Regions from separate parts of the Homo sapiens genome. Here region 1 is linked to region 2. The links are contacts of gene promoters, found by promoter capture Hi-C in human tissues and cell types (Jung and others, 2019). All regions are on one chromosome and are shown on one strand. Each heading gives the region's core, a stretch centred on a gene start or on the middle of the fragment in contact. The rest is flanking DNA. Distances are from core to core; before and after follow the strand shown.

The links. Contacts are between HindIII fragments. The study calls those that stand out against the background at their distance.
Region 1: a contact is called between the fragment with the promoter of ATG9B here and the fragment with the promoter of ZNF862 in region 2, in 1 of the 25 tissues and cell types used here (dorsolateral prefrontal cortex).

Annotation. Positions count from the first base shown.
Region 1 is chr7:151,022,041-151,027,460 of GRCh38, reverse strand. It overlaps ATG9B (autophagy related 9B), which reads left to right and starts at 2,967. Exons shown (of 14, transcript NM_001317056.2): 1 at 2,967-3,587; 2 at 3,731-3,774; 3 at 3,952-4,016; 4 at 4,255-4,416. The coding sequence starts at 3,038. LOC124901777 (a long non-coding RNA gene) reads left to right here. Exons shown (of 3, transcript XR_007060593.1): 2 at 449-654; 3 at 2,428-2,466. RefSeq lists enhancers at 1-242, 243-846, 1,452-2,056. The HindIII fragment of the contact is 10,457 bases long and covers 1-4,745 here.
Region 2 is chr7:149,835,374-149,841,646 of GRCh38, reverse strand. It overlaps ZNF862 (zinc finger protein 862), which reads right to left and starts at 3,272. Exons shown (of 8, transcript NM_001099220.3): 1 at 3,012-3,272. The coding sequence starts at 3,035. RefSeq lists a silencer at 2,737-3,196. The HindIII fragment of the contact is 30,621 bases long and covers 1-6,273 here.

The DNA.
Region 1 (5,420 bases), core at 1,718-4,217, 1.2 Mb before region 2:
TCAGTACAGACCCTTTATGGGTGTCGGGCTGGGGGACGGTCAGGTCTTTCCCTTCCCACGAGGCCATATTTCATCACATGGGGAGAAACCTTGGACAATACCTAGCTTTCCTAGGCAGAGGTCCCTGCAGCCTTCCTCAGTGTTTTGTGTCTGGGTACTTGAGATTAGGGAGTGGTTTGAGATTAGGGAGTGGTGATGACTCTTAAGAAGCATGCTGCCTTCAAGAATTTGTTTAACAAAGCACACCGTGCACAGCCCTTAATCCATTTAACCCTGAGTTGACACAGCACATGTTTCAGGGAGCACAGGGTTGGGGGTAGGGTTACAGATCAACAGCATCTCAAGGCAGAAGAATTTTTCTTAGTACAGAACAAAATGGAGTCTCCTATGTCTACTTCTTTCTACACAGACACAGGAACAATCTGATCTCTCTTTCTTTTCCCCACAGTCACGTGTACTTGGGGAAGAACTCCCCCGGTGATTCTGACACTCTTGCCCTACGCCTCAGCCATTGAGAACTATTGGTATGGAGGGCCTGTAATTTATCAAGGCGCGGCCTCAGATCTGTCTGCCTCGCAGATACCTTCCTCACCCGGGTCAGAATGACTTGCCTCAGGCTCCTGCCAAAGAGTTTGCACCACTCGTTTCTTCCCTGTAATTACTTGTTTGCGTATTTGTCTCCCCACTGGGCTGCAGCTTCTTGGGTAGTGGCTCTGTTTTATTCATCTGTCCTCTTCCCTTCCAAATGCTTGGCAAGGAAAAGTGCCCTTTAAAATAAATCGACTTGAATTGGGAGTGGTGGTAGGGAGGCTGTCAATGAGAATGAATTCAGGGTGAAACTAGGTAGGACAATGTCCCAGGATTAGTTTGGGGTTGAGCTGGGGAGCTCTTGGTGTATGGGGGGGTCCTATTGTGACTATGGTGGAATAGCCACGATACTGAGTGACATTGGGCGAGTGAGGTGGGGGAGAGACTAGACAACACCCCACATAACCCATCTTGACAGATGTCTCAGAAAGATTATGGGAATTTCCTGGCCCCTCTGCAATGTGGGATTCCATTTTGCTACCTCTAGAAGGACAGGGTCTTGTTTTCATAGCTCTGCCTCCTACTCTGAGATAAAGGCATGCAAGACCTGAGCTACTACTACAATACCCCACACAGAAGGAGAAAATCAGGCACATCTGGATTCAAGTTTTGTGGGTGATTCCATGATTGCCTCCAGTGAACAATCTGGGAAGCACAGTGTCCATATCGCCATTTCAGGGGTACTGGCCCCAACATCAGCCCTTAGGCCTAAGCCCTAGAGACCTTGACACCTGGTGGCTGAGTCAGTATCTCAGTAATGGGCTTTAGAAGGAAACCTGGTGATTCAGGGCCTCAAGAATGGCGTTGGGCAAGCCACCAGACCAGCTGCCTGGGTCTCCTCCTCCTTGTTGAGGTGACAACAAGGAACTCAGTTCAGCTCCTCCCTGGGTATCCAAATTATCCTTCCAAGTCCCAGACTCACAGCTGTCCTCCCTTCTGATTCAGCCCTGATGCTTTTCAGGGGGTCCCAGAAGTGGGATCCGGACTTGAGAGAATGTCACAGTTGAAAATGATAAGGATGCAAACGGAATGGAACTTTCAGAGAACCCCAATTTTCTACTCTAAGTTCTCCAAACCAACTCTCAAATCCAAGATAGCTGCCTTTCCTTTCTTCACCTCCTCTTCTTAGTTTTCCCCAACTTGGCTGCAAAGTCAGCCTCCCCTCTTCTCTTCCTTAGCACCTCAGACCAATAAAACATGCAACCTTTTCTTATTCTTTTTAAAAAATTTATTTTTGACCAGGCGCAGTGGCTCACGCCTGTAATGCCAGCACTTTGGGAGGCCAAGGCGGGTGGATCACGAGGTCAGGAGTTCAAGACCAGCCTGGCCAACATGGTGAAACCCCATCTCTACTAAAAATACAAAAAATTAGCTGGGTGTGGTGGCACACACCTGTAGTCTCAGCTACTCAGGAGGCTGAAGCAGAAGAATCACTTGAACTTGGGAGGCGGAGGTTGCAGTGAGCCGAGATTGTGCCACTATACTCCAGTCTGGGTGACAGAGTGAGACTGCCTCAAAAAGAAAAAAAATTATTTTGTTTGTTTTTTAGATTTTGTAGAGATGGTGTTTCCCTAAGTTGCTCAGGCTGGTCTCGAACTCCTGGCCTCAAGTGATCCTCTCGCCCGGGCCTCCCAAAGTCCTGGGATTACGGGTGTAAGCCAACATGCCTGGCCCCTTTACTTCTTCTTTTCTGTTTTGGTCACAAAACATTTCTCTGTTGATCACTGTAGTGTGTGTGTGGAGGGAAGTGGGGGAGGTACACTCTTAAGAAATGAAATAGTTAACATCTTGGTCCTAAGATTTGTTGTAGAGATGGAGTCTTCTCATTCTGTTCCCCAGGCTGGTCTTGAACTCCTGGCCTCAAGCAATCCTCTTTCCTCGGCTTCCCAAAGTGCTGAGATTGATTACAAGTGTGAGGTACTGCGCCCTGCTACAATCCTTTAATAGGATGTTTTTGGGGGGGGTGGCAGGGGGCAGGATCTAGCTCACTGTAACCTATACTGTTCCAGTGTAACCTGCACCAAGCCATCCTCCCACCTCAGTCTCTTGAGTAGCTAGGAACACAAGCACACATCACCACACCTGGCTCTAACACGATTTTGCTTTTTGCTTTTGTCATTTTGGCTGCTGTTCTTTTTATCTTTCATTCATTCAAGGTCTGAAGATGGAGATAATAGGAATCTTCTCATCTCAATGTGCTCTTTGGCCCCTCCTCTTAAACTGATGCCCCTCTCAGGCCCTGAGGGATTTGGCCTCAGGTTGCCCTGGAAGGGGTGTGAGTGATCAGACAGGTGACTGAGAGCTGGGACGCCTGAGGCCTGCCTAGGCTGAGTCACCTAGTAATGTTGTTGTCATTGTTCCTGTTGAAGTCCCAGCTCAGTGTCACAGACCTTTGTGGAAGCAACAACAGCTCCCATCCTTCCAACCTTTCTGGAGAAGCCGTGGCCTGATGGTGAGCCGAATGGGCTGGGGGGGGAGAAGAAGGCGGCTGGGGCGGTGGGGAGATCTGGGGCCCGGATCGGTGCCCCTCCTCCCCATGCCACTGCCACCTCCTCCTCCTCCTTCATGCCGGGGACCTGGGGGAGGGAGGATCTCCATCTTCTCTCTGTCCCCTGCCCCTCATACAAGAAGCTCCCCCTCCTCATTTTCCCCTCCCACCGCAGGGCCCCCTTGCTCAGTGCTACAGGGGACAGGGGCTTCTCAGTCTTGCCACAGTGCTCTCCCTATCCCAGCCACCCCCCCAACACAGGCTCAACCTGCAATGACACCTGCCTCTGCATCTCCCTCCTGGGGATCCCACTCCACCCCACCCCTGGCCCCGGCAACCCCCACTCCCTCACAGCAGTGCCCCCAGGACTCTCCTGGGCTGCGGGTAGGCCCTTTGATCCCTGAACAGGATTATGAGCGGCTGGAGGACTGTGACCCTGAGGGGTCCCAAGACTCACCCATCCACGGGGAGGAGCAGCAACCCCTGCTTCATGTCCCTGAAGGGCTCCGAGGTATGTGTGTGGGTGTGGGTGGGAGAGGGTTAGTGGTGCCTGGGAGCTCCAGTACTTATCCCAGGCTGGGCCTCTGGCAGCGGGTTGAGAACGTGGAGAATTGATCACATGCCAGGGGCTGACACTCTCCCCTCTGTGCCCAGGCTCCTGGCATCACATCCAGAACCTGGACAGTTTCTTCACCAAGATATCCTTTGCGCTAGGCCTGCAGAGGTGGCATGGGAAGGTCCTCTTGGAGCTGGCACTGTTCTTGGCAGGGAGACTCCGTGAGGGCGTCATGGGTGGGAGACTTGTTGGGGCTGAGGGGAGGTGTCCTCAGGAGAGGCCCCCCGTGCCTCAGGCTTGTTCCTTGACACGCAGCCACATCTACAGCTACCACCAGCGGAATGGCTTTGCCTGCATCTTGCTGGAGGATGTCTTCCAGCTGGGGTGAGACGCTTAGCCCGGGCCCGGAACTCGGTCCCCTGGGCCCATGGCTTCCTTCTGTCATTTTGCTTCCTTAATTGTGCCAGCTGCTTCCATCCCATGCTTTCCCGAGCAGCCCAAGGGCTCAGCAGGGGCAGGGTCAGGGAGGATAACCATGGGCTGCTCTGGGGGCTGGGGCAGGAGCCCACCTGGCTGTCCCTGATCACTGCAGCATCCCGGCACCCCCCCTTCCTCCCGGCAGACAATTTATTTTCATTGTCACCTTCACAACCTTCCTCCTTCGATGCGTGGATTACAATGTTCTCTTTGCCAACCAACCAAGTAACCATACCAGACCTGGGCCGTTCCACAGCAAAGTGACCCTGTCAGATGCCATCCTACCCTCAGCCCAGTGTGCTGAGAGGTTAGTGACAACCTGGTGGGGCCCTGGGGGTGAAGCATGGGCAGTGGGTAGAGGAGTAGACGGGAGCCCCACTTTGTCCCGTCATCTAGATCAGCAGTTCTCAAAGCTTTTGGTCTTAGGACCAAAAATACACTTAATATACTTTAAGTTGTACTTAAGTGTATTAAGTTGTACTTAAAGTGTATTAAGTATATCTTTTTTTTTTTTTAAGACAGAGTTTCACTCTTGTTGCTCAGGCTGGAGTGCAATGGTGAGGTCTTGGCTCACTGCAACCTCCACCTCCCAGGTTCAAGCAATTCTCCTGCCTCAGCCTCCCCAGTAGCTGGGATTATAGGCGTGCACCACCACGTGTATTTTTAGTAGAGACAGGGTTTCACCATGTTGGCCAGGCTGGTCTGGAACTCCTGGCCTCAGGTGATCCACCCACTTTGGCCTCCCAAAGTGCTGGGATTACAGGTGTGAGCCACTGTGCCCGGCCTTTTAAGTGTATCTTAATTACAGTGCATTAAGTGTATCTTAATACACTTAAAATTGGTTGAGAATCCTGAAAAGCTTTTGTTTATGGGAGTCGTATCTATCCACATTTTACCTTATAAAAAATTAAAATTAGGCCGGGCATAGTGGTTCACACCTGTAATCCCAGCACTTTGGGAGGCTGAGGCAGGAGGATTGCTTGAAGCCAGAAGTTTGAGATCAGCCTGAGCAACAAAGTGAGACCACATCTCTATAAAAAATAAAAATTAGCTGGGCTTGGTGGTGCGTACCTGCAGTCCTAGCTAAGCCTAGTCAGGAGGCTAAGACAGTGACTGTCTCTGATCACTGCAGCATCCCTACACCCTCCTCCCTCCCAGCAGACGATTCATTTTCATTGTTGCCTTCACAACCTTCCTCCCTGAAGCATGGATTGCAATGTTCTCTTTGCCAACCAACCAAATAACTGTTCCAGACCTGGGCCGTTATTTGGCAGGGAGATAGGAGCTATGTTTCTACTGCTGCACTACAGC
Region 2 (6,273 bases), core at 2,023-4,522:
TGAGGTGGCGGGCTGCAGTGTTCTTCAGAGCACCCACACCTTGCAGCAAAAGGGCTCCTGTAGTGATGCTATTTTATGAGCATTCCTTCCTGAGACCCTATTAAATGCCAGGAACTGCTCCACTGTTCTAGCTGGGGATGTAAGAGTCAAGTCAACAAATACGTAAATAAATAAATGAACATGAGAATTTTATTTAGTGATAAGGGTTAGGAAGAAAATAAAACAGGATCATGGGATAGAACATGATGGGGAAAAGTCTGACCCTTATCCATTATTCTGTCAATGACAGGCAAGATGTCCTACATTCAATGTGGGATATCAATCCAATGGCCCAAGATGGCTGTCAGTTAATAAAGACCACAAAACAGCACCCAAGGAAGAGTCTAGTAATAGACCAAACCACTATCTCACGAGGTAGTCTCCCAGTTCTGAGCCATAAGAATGCTGTTCGGAGTGGAGTTGTAGAACAGCACCGCTATTCCTTGTCACTCATTTGCAACACATCTTACACTGACAGTTGGTTTTGTAATTACTTTATTTCATTCTTGTATGAAGTTCTCATTTCCCATATTAGAAAACAACTATCTTTGGGAAGGGTGAGCACCTTTCTGAGATACCCTAAAATCAAGATTATAATCAAGGGTGAAATTTCCAGTCTCTGAGGTTTCACTTAGTGGTTGGACAGGACACGGAATCAGGTTTCTCCTCTACCTCCCAAAATGTTTGTACAGTCATGTGTTGCTTAACAACAGGGATAAGTTCTAGGAAATGTGTCCTTAGGCAGTTCTGTCATTGTGGAACATCACAGAGTGTACTTATACAAAACTACATGGTACAGCCTACTACATATCTAGGCTATATGGTATATAGCCTTTTGCCCCCTAGGCTACAATCCTACACAGTATGTTACTGTACTGAAAACTGTAGGCCACTGTAACACATGGTAAGTATTTGCGTATCTAAACATAGAAAAGGTACAGTAAGAATATGGTAGAAAAGACAAAAAAAAAAAAAAGGTCCATCTGTATTGGGCACTTACCATGAATGGAGCTTGCAGGACTGGAAGTTGCTCTGGGTGAGTGAGTGAGTGAGTGAGTGAGTGGTGAGAGAATGTGAAGGCCTAGGACATGACTGAACACTTCTGTAGACTTTATAAACACTGCACACTAAGGCTACGCCGAATTTATCAAAAATTTTTCTTTCTTCAATAATAAATTAACCCTAGCTTATTGTAACTGTTTTACTTTATAAACTTAATTTTTTAAACTTTTGACTCTTTTGTAATAACACTTAGCTTAACACACATTGTACACCTGTACAATATTTTTCTTTAAATATTTTTGTATTTTTATTTTCCAGCAAACCATTCCATCAACAAAAAGTATTTTTCTTTATATTCTAATTCTATGAGGTTTTGTATTTTTAAATTTTTTTTTTTTTTTTTTTTTTTTTTTTTTTTACTTTTTAAGCTTTCTTAAAACCTAAGACACAAACACACACATTAGCCTAAGCCTACACAGGGTCAGGATCATGAAGATGTCACCAGGTGATAGGAATTTCTCAGCCCCACTGTAGTCTCAGGGGATTGTACGTGAGAGCGGTGTTGATGGAAACCTTGTTATACAGCGCATGACCGTATTTCTCTTCTCCCGTTAAAGGCTAAGAAAGCCTCTGACTGAACAGAATAGCTTGGAAATCAACTTCAAATCACTGATACCAATATCAATCCCAATATTTTATAATCCTTCTTCCCCCTACATTTTGCTTCTCTTTATTCAAATTCAGGTTCAATCTAAACCAATCTGGGGATATTTCCAAAGGGTAAGGGCCATAAGCTCCATCTTTGCTTGGGTTTTGTTGAGCTTTATTGGCTTGGACCACGTACTCTGTAGGTGCCGTGTCTGCTACATGCATCACTGTAGCTTGTGGAGGGAGGGAGGATGGAAGAGATGCTCATGCGAGAAATCACCTCTTTTGAAATTCAGAGTCCTTCCTAGTCTTCCCAGGAAAAACTACAGCATCAAAAGAACCTCATTATCCTTTTCTCTCTTTTCGTGTGGGACAACCCTTTCAGGCGTGTCCAAGTTATTGAAGTGAAAACTGCAGGAGAGCTCCTTGAGAAAGGTGATCATTTCCTATTTATCCTCATACTTCCAGCATCTCGTTCAATGCAAATCACAGATCACAAATGTTTATTAAATGGACAGTTTTTTAAGGGACTCAATAAACAGTCGAAAACGTTTGTTGAGAGAATTCTCCTCTGTGCCAAATAAGAAACAATACTCAAGAACTGGCAGCAAACAACATCCAGAAAGATGTTAGTCCCAAGAGGCTGCCACTGTCTCCAAGCTAATGTGCCCACAACCACACTGGTCTTGGATGACACGGCCTGGAAGCGCTGGCAATCCCGTCAAATCCCTGAACTCCGCCCCCAAGCACTTTCTTTCCACCTTTTCTTCCAACTCAAAGCCTCTTGCCCAAAGCCAATTTATGACACAGGTTTCTAAGCAATGCCCAGATATTCCATGAAGTACATAACCTAGAAACAGAAGTGGCAAAAAGCATGCCAGATGCCCTCTCTTTTCAGCCCTTTCTTGGTAAGGAGGATCTAGGCAGGGTCAAGCCCTCAAGCGTCCCACCCTGCAGCTCCCACTGGCGTCCGATCCAGACTCCAAGCCTTAGCAGGGCCTCTTCAAAACGCCGAAGGTGGTGGGGAAAACAGGAAGCACCTTCGCATCGCTCCACTCGGGGGTCACCCAACCCAGCATCGACCCAGCGGACGCTCGGCAGCTCGGGGAGGATGCGCGGACACCGAACGGAAGCGTCCGCTCCTCTCCGCCACCCTCCCGGGGTCGGGCGCCGAAGTGCGGGAAGAGAGGGCGGGCCGGCGAGTCCTTCCCTGCAAGCCTGGCTCATCTGCGGGGCCTCCGCCCGAGCCGCCCCGCCTCGCCCGAGCCCGGCTCGGGGATCCTCGGGAGGGAGCGGGCGGCCCCCGGGCCTTCCAGTCCTACCTTCCCCGACTCTCTGGGCTCCATGGCCCCGCTTTCGGAGGCCCGTGCCGCCCCCTCCCCCCGCGGCCTGGCCTGAGGATGCAGCCGCCGCGACCGCCCCGGGGACCCAGGCTCCCGGAGGGGGAGGGCACCCAGGTAGGGAGGGAGCGCGGCCCAAGAACTTCGCTCTCTCACGTCGGGGGGCGGTAGCGCCGGTGGACCCAGGATAAGCGCGCTGAGCTGAGACTTGCGTCGCACCGAGCGAACAGCTTTACGGTCACTGCCCAGCCCCAGGCGGCGGGGCGTGACGGGAAGTGTAGTCCGCTCTAGGTGAGCGGCTCTCGAAGCTGCTATTGGCTCCCGGAACGCAGGTCCTGATTGGACGCCGGCGGCGCGCTTGCGACCCTCCCCGCCTCCCTCCGGCGACAGTTACTAGGCAACGGCGGCGTGGCGTCCTTTAGTCCTCTGCAGCAAGGGCAAAGCGCTCTGATTGGGCTACGCGAAGGCCAATGTCAGCCTTGAAGTTCTAGGTTTTCTTTTATTAAGGAGGGCAATACTTTTTGTTCTATTCACTCAAAAAGTATCATTGGTTGCCTACCATGGGTCAGGCCGTGTTCTAGGGTTTGGGAGAACACAGTTGAATGAGACAAAGGCCTTGCCTTCAAGGAACTCACGATCTATTAGGGAATCAGACCAGAAACAGATAATTACAAAACAGAGACAAGGGCTATGAAAGAGGTAAGCACAAAACATGAATTAAAGCCCGCGTTGTCACCTTAGAGTGAAGCGGTGGGGGATATGAGGTGCTTAGTCAAGGATTTCCTGCGGAAGTGATGCCTCAGCAGAATTAAAGCAAGAGGTAGGGTCTGCCAGGTAAAGGAGGTGCAATGGACTGACCGGTGTTCCCCTCCCAGGAGATGGGGCGTTTGGGAGGTTTAGATGAAGTCGTGAGGGTCAGGCCCTTATGGTGGGATTAGTGTCCTTATAAGAAGTTTTGTCCAAGTGCGGTGGCTCACACCTCTAATCCCAACTCTTTGGGAGGCTGAGACAGGAGGATCACTTGAGCCCAGTAGTTTGAGACCAGCCTGTGCAACACAGTGAGAGATCCCATCTCTATAAAAATAAAATAATTTTGTGAGGTGGAAGGATCACTTGAGCCTGGGTGGTCGAGGCTGCAGTAAGCCGGGATGGCGCTTCTGCACTCCAGCCTGGGTGACAGAGCAAGACCATGTCTCAAAAAAAAAAAAGACTTTTAGGGGGCCAGGGCAGGGATGTGCCTTCATGAAGGTGTTAGTGACCACATGCGTGCTGGGGGAACTAGCTAGGCCCTTTGCCCTTCTGCCCCTCTGCCTTCTGCCATGTGAGGACAGAGCAAAAAGGTGCCCTCCTGGAAGCAGAGACCAGGCTCTCACCAGACACAGACACTGCTGGTGCTTTGATCTTGGATTTCCCAGCCTCCAGAATCATAAGAAATAAGTATCCATAATTTATAAATTACCTAGTTCCAGGGATTTTGTTACAGAAGCACATAGAGATTAAGACAATGGTCAACTAATTTTTTTGTATTTTTAGTAGAGACAGGGTTTCACCATGTTACACAGGCTTCAAGTAAGCGTTTTCCATTATCCAGCTCTGCTCTTCTGGCCAAGGTTGAATAGACCTAAATTCCGTTCGAGGAGTGTAGGGGAGTCTGCATTACTGAAAAAAAGAATGAGACACAAGAAATGTGGAGGAGAAGGCAGAGAGTGAGGACTCTGTGGATTCCAAGTGGCCTGCCACTCACCACCTCGACTATATCACTACCTTGAAGAGCTATATTTCTGCCCATGAGTTATCCATGTCTTTATAACAGATTCTCTTTTAGGGGTTAAAAAACTGGAGGACAGCTAGGGTAAATCATTCTTTTGACACATTTTTCCATAAAAGGTTTTCCATCTTTCCAAGAAAAATGGAGCAGTATCTAGGGGGAAATGGGGAATCAAAGCAGTAGGACTAAGATATGAGTCACAAGATCTTGTTTCTGTGTTGATGGGAAGGAAACTGATGATTCAAAGGGGGATAGTGCAAGGAACCAAGTCCTTGAGAAATCAGGAGGGTCTAGGAACAGGGTATCGAGGGCCCTTCCTAGGGATAGGAACACTTTTTTTTTTTTTTTTTTTTTTGAGATGGAGTCTCTCTCTGTCACCCAGGCTGGAGTGCAGTGGCTCAATCTTGGCTCACTGCAACCTCCACCTCCCAGGTTCAAACAATTCCCCTGTGTCAGCCTCCTGAGTAGCTGGGACTACAGGCGTGCACCATCACACCCTGCTAATTTTTGTATTTTTAGTAGAGACAGGATTTCACCATGTTGGCCAGGCTGGTCTCGAACTCCTGACCTCAAGTGATTCACCTGCATTGGCCTCCCAAAGTGCTGGGATTACAAGCCTGAACCACCGCGTCTGGCCGGGATAGCAACACTTTTGGTTATGCCAGGAGGGAAGAAGAAGATGGAGTAGATGTACATTTGTTTGTAGATTTACTGAGGGAATTTCCATCCGATGATGTCTCTTTGAGACAAGATCATCTCATGAAAATGAAGTGGGGAATAGAAGGTATACCAAGTCATCTTGGAGAATGGGAAATAGAGCTTACCTCAAACCTTGAATTAAAGGCCAATTTGAAGTTTATGATCACAAATTTCAGTTTAAAAAAAGCCTGGCTGCGAAATTCTGTTTAGAAGCAGAAAGTTGGGTAGATATTTGGCTTCATCCTGGCTTGGAGTATTGCCAGGTAGGTATGAAGGAGGCACAGAAAAGCAAGGGAATGAACAGTACTTGCAGGAGTAATTATGATGGTAGGAAAGTGATTCTCAATTCCAGCTGCACATTGGAATCACCCATGGACCTTTCAAACATCCTGATTTAATAGGCCTAGGATGGGGCATGGGCACTGATTTTTTTAATTTGTTTAATTTTTTTGTTTGTTTTTGTTTTTTAAGAGACAGGGTCTCACTCTGTCACCCAGACTGGAGGGCAGTTGCGTGATCTTGGCTGACTGCAGTCTTGACCTCCTGGGCTTAAGGTATCCTCCCACCTCACCCTTCCGAGTAGCTAGGACTACAGGAGTGTGCCATCACGCCTGGCTAGCTGTTTTTTTACTTTTTGTAGAGATGGGTTCTCACTATGTTGCCCAGGCTGATCTCAAACTTCCAGGCTCAAGTGATCAACCCGCCTCCCAAAGTGCTGGGATTATAGGCATGAGCCACCATGCCCAGCTGGCATTGATATTTTTTAAGAGCTCCTCA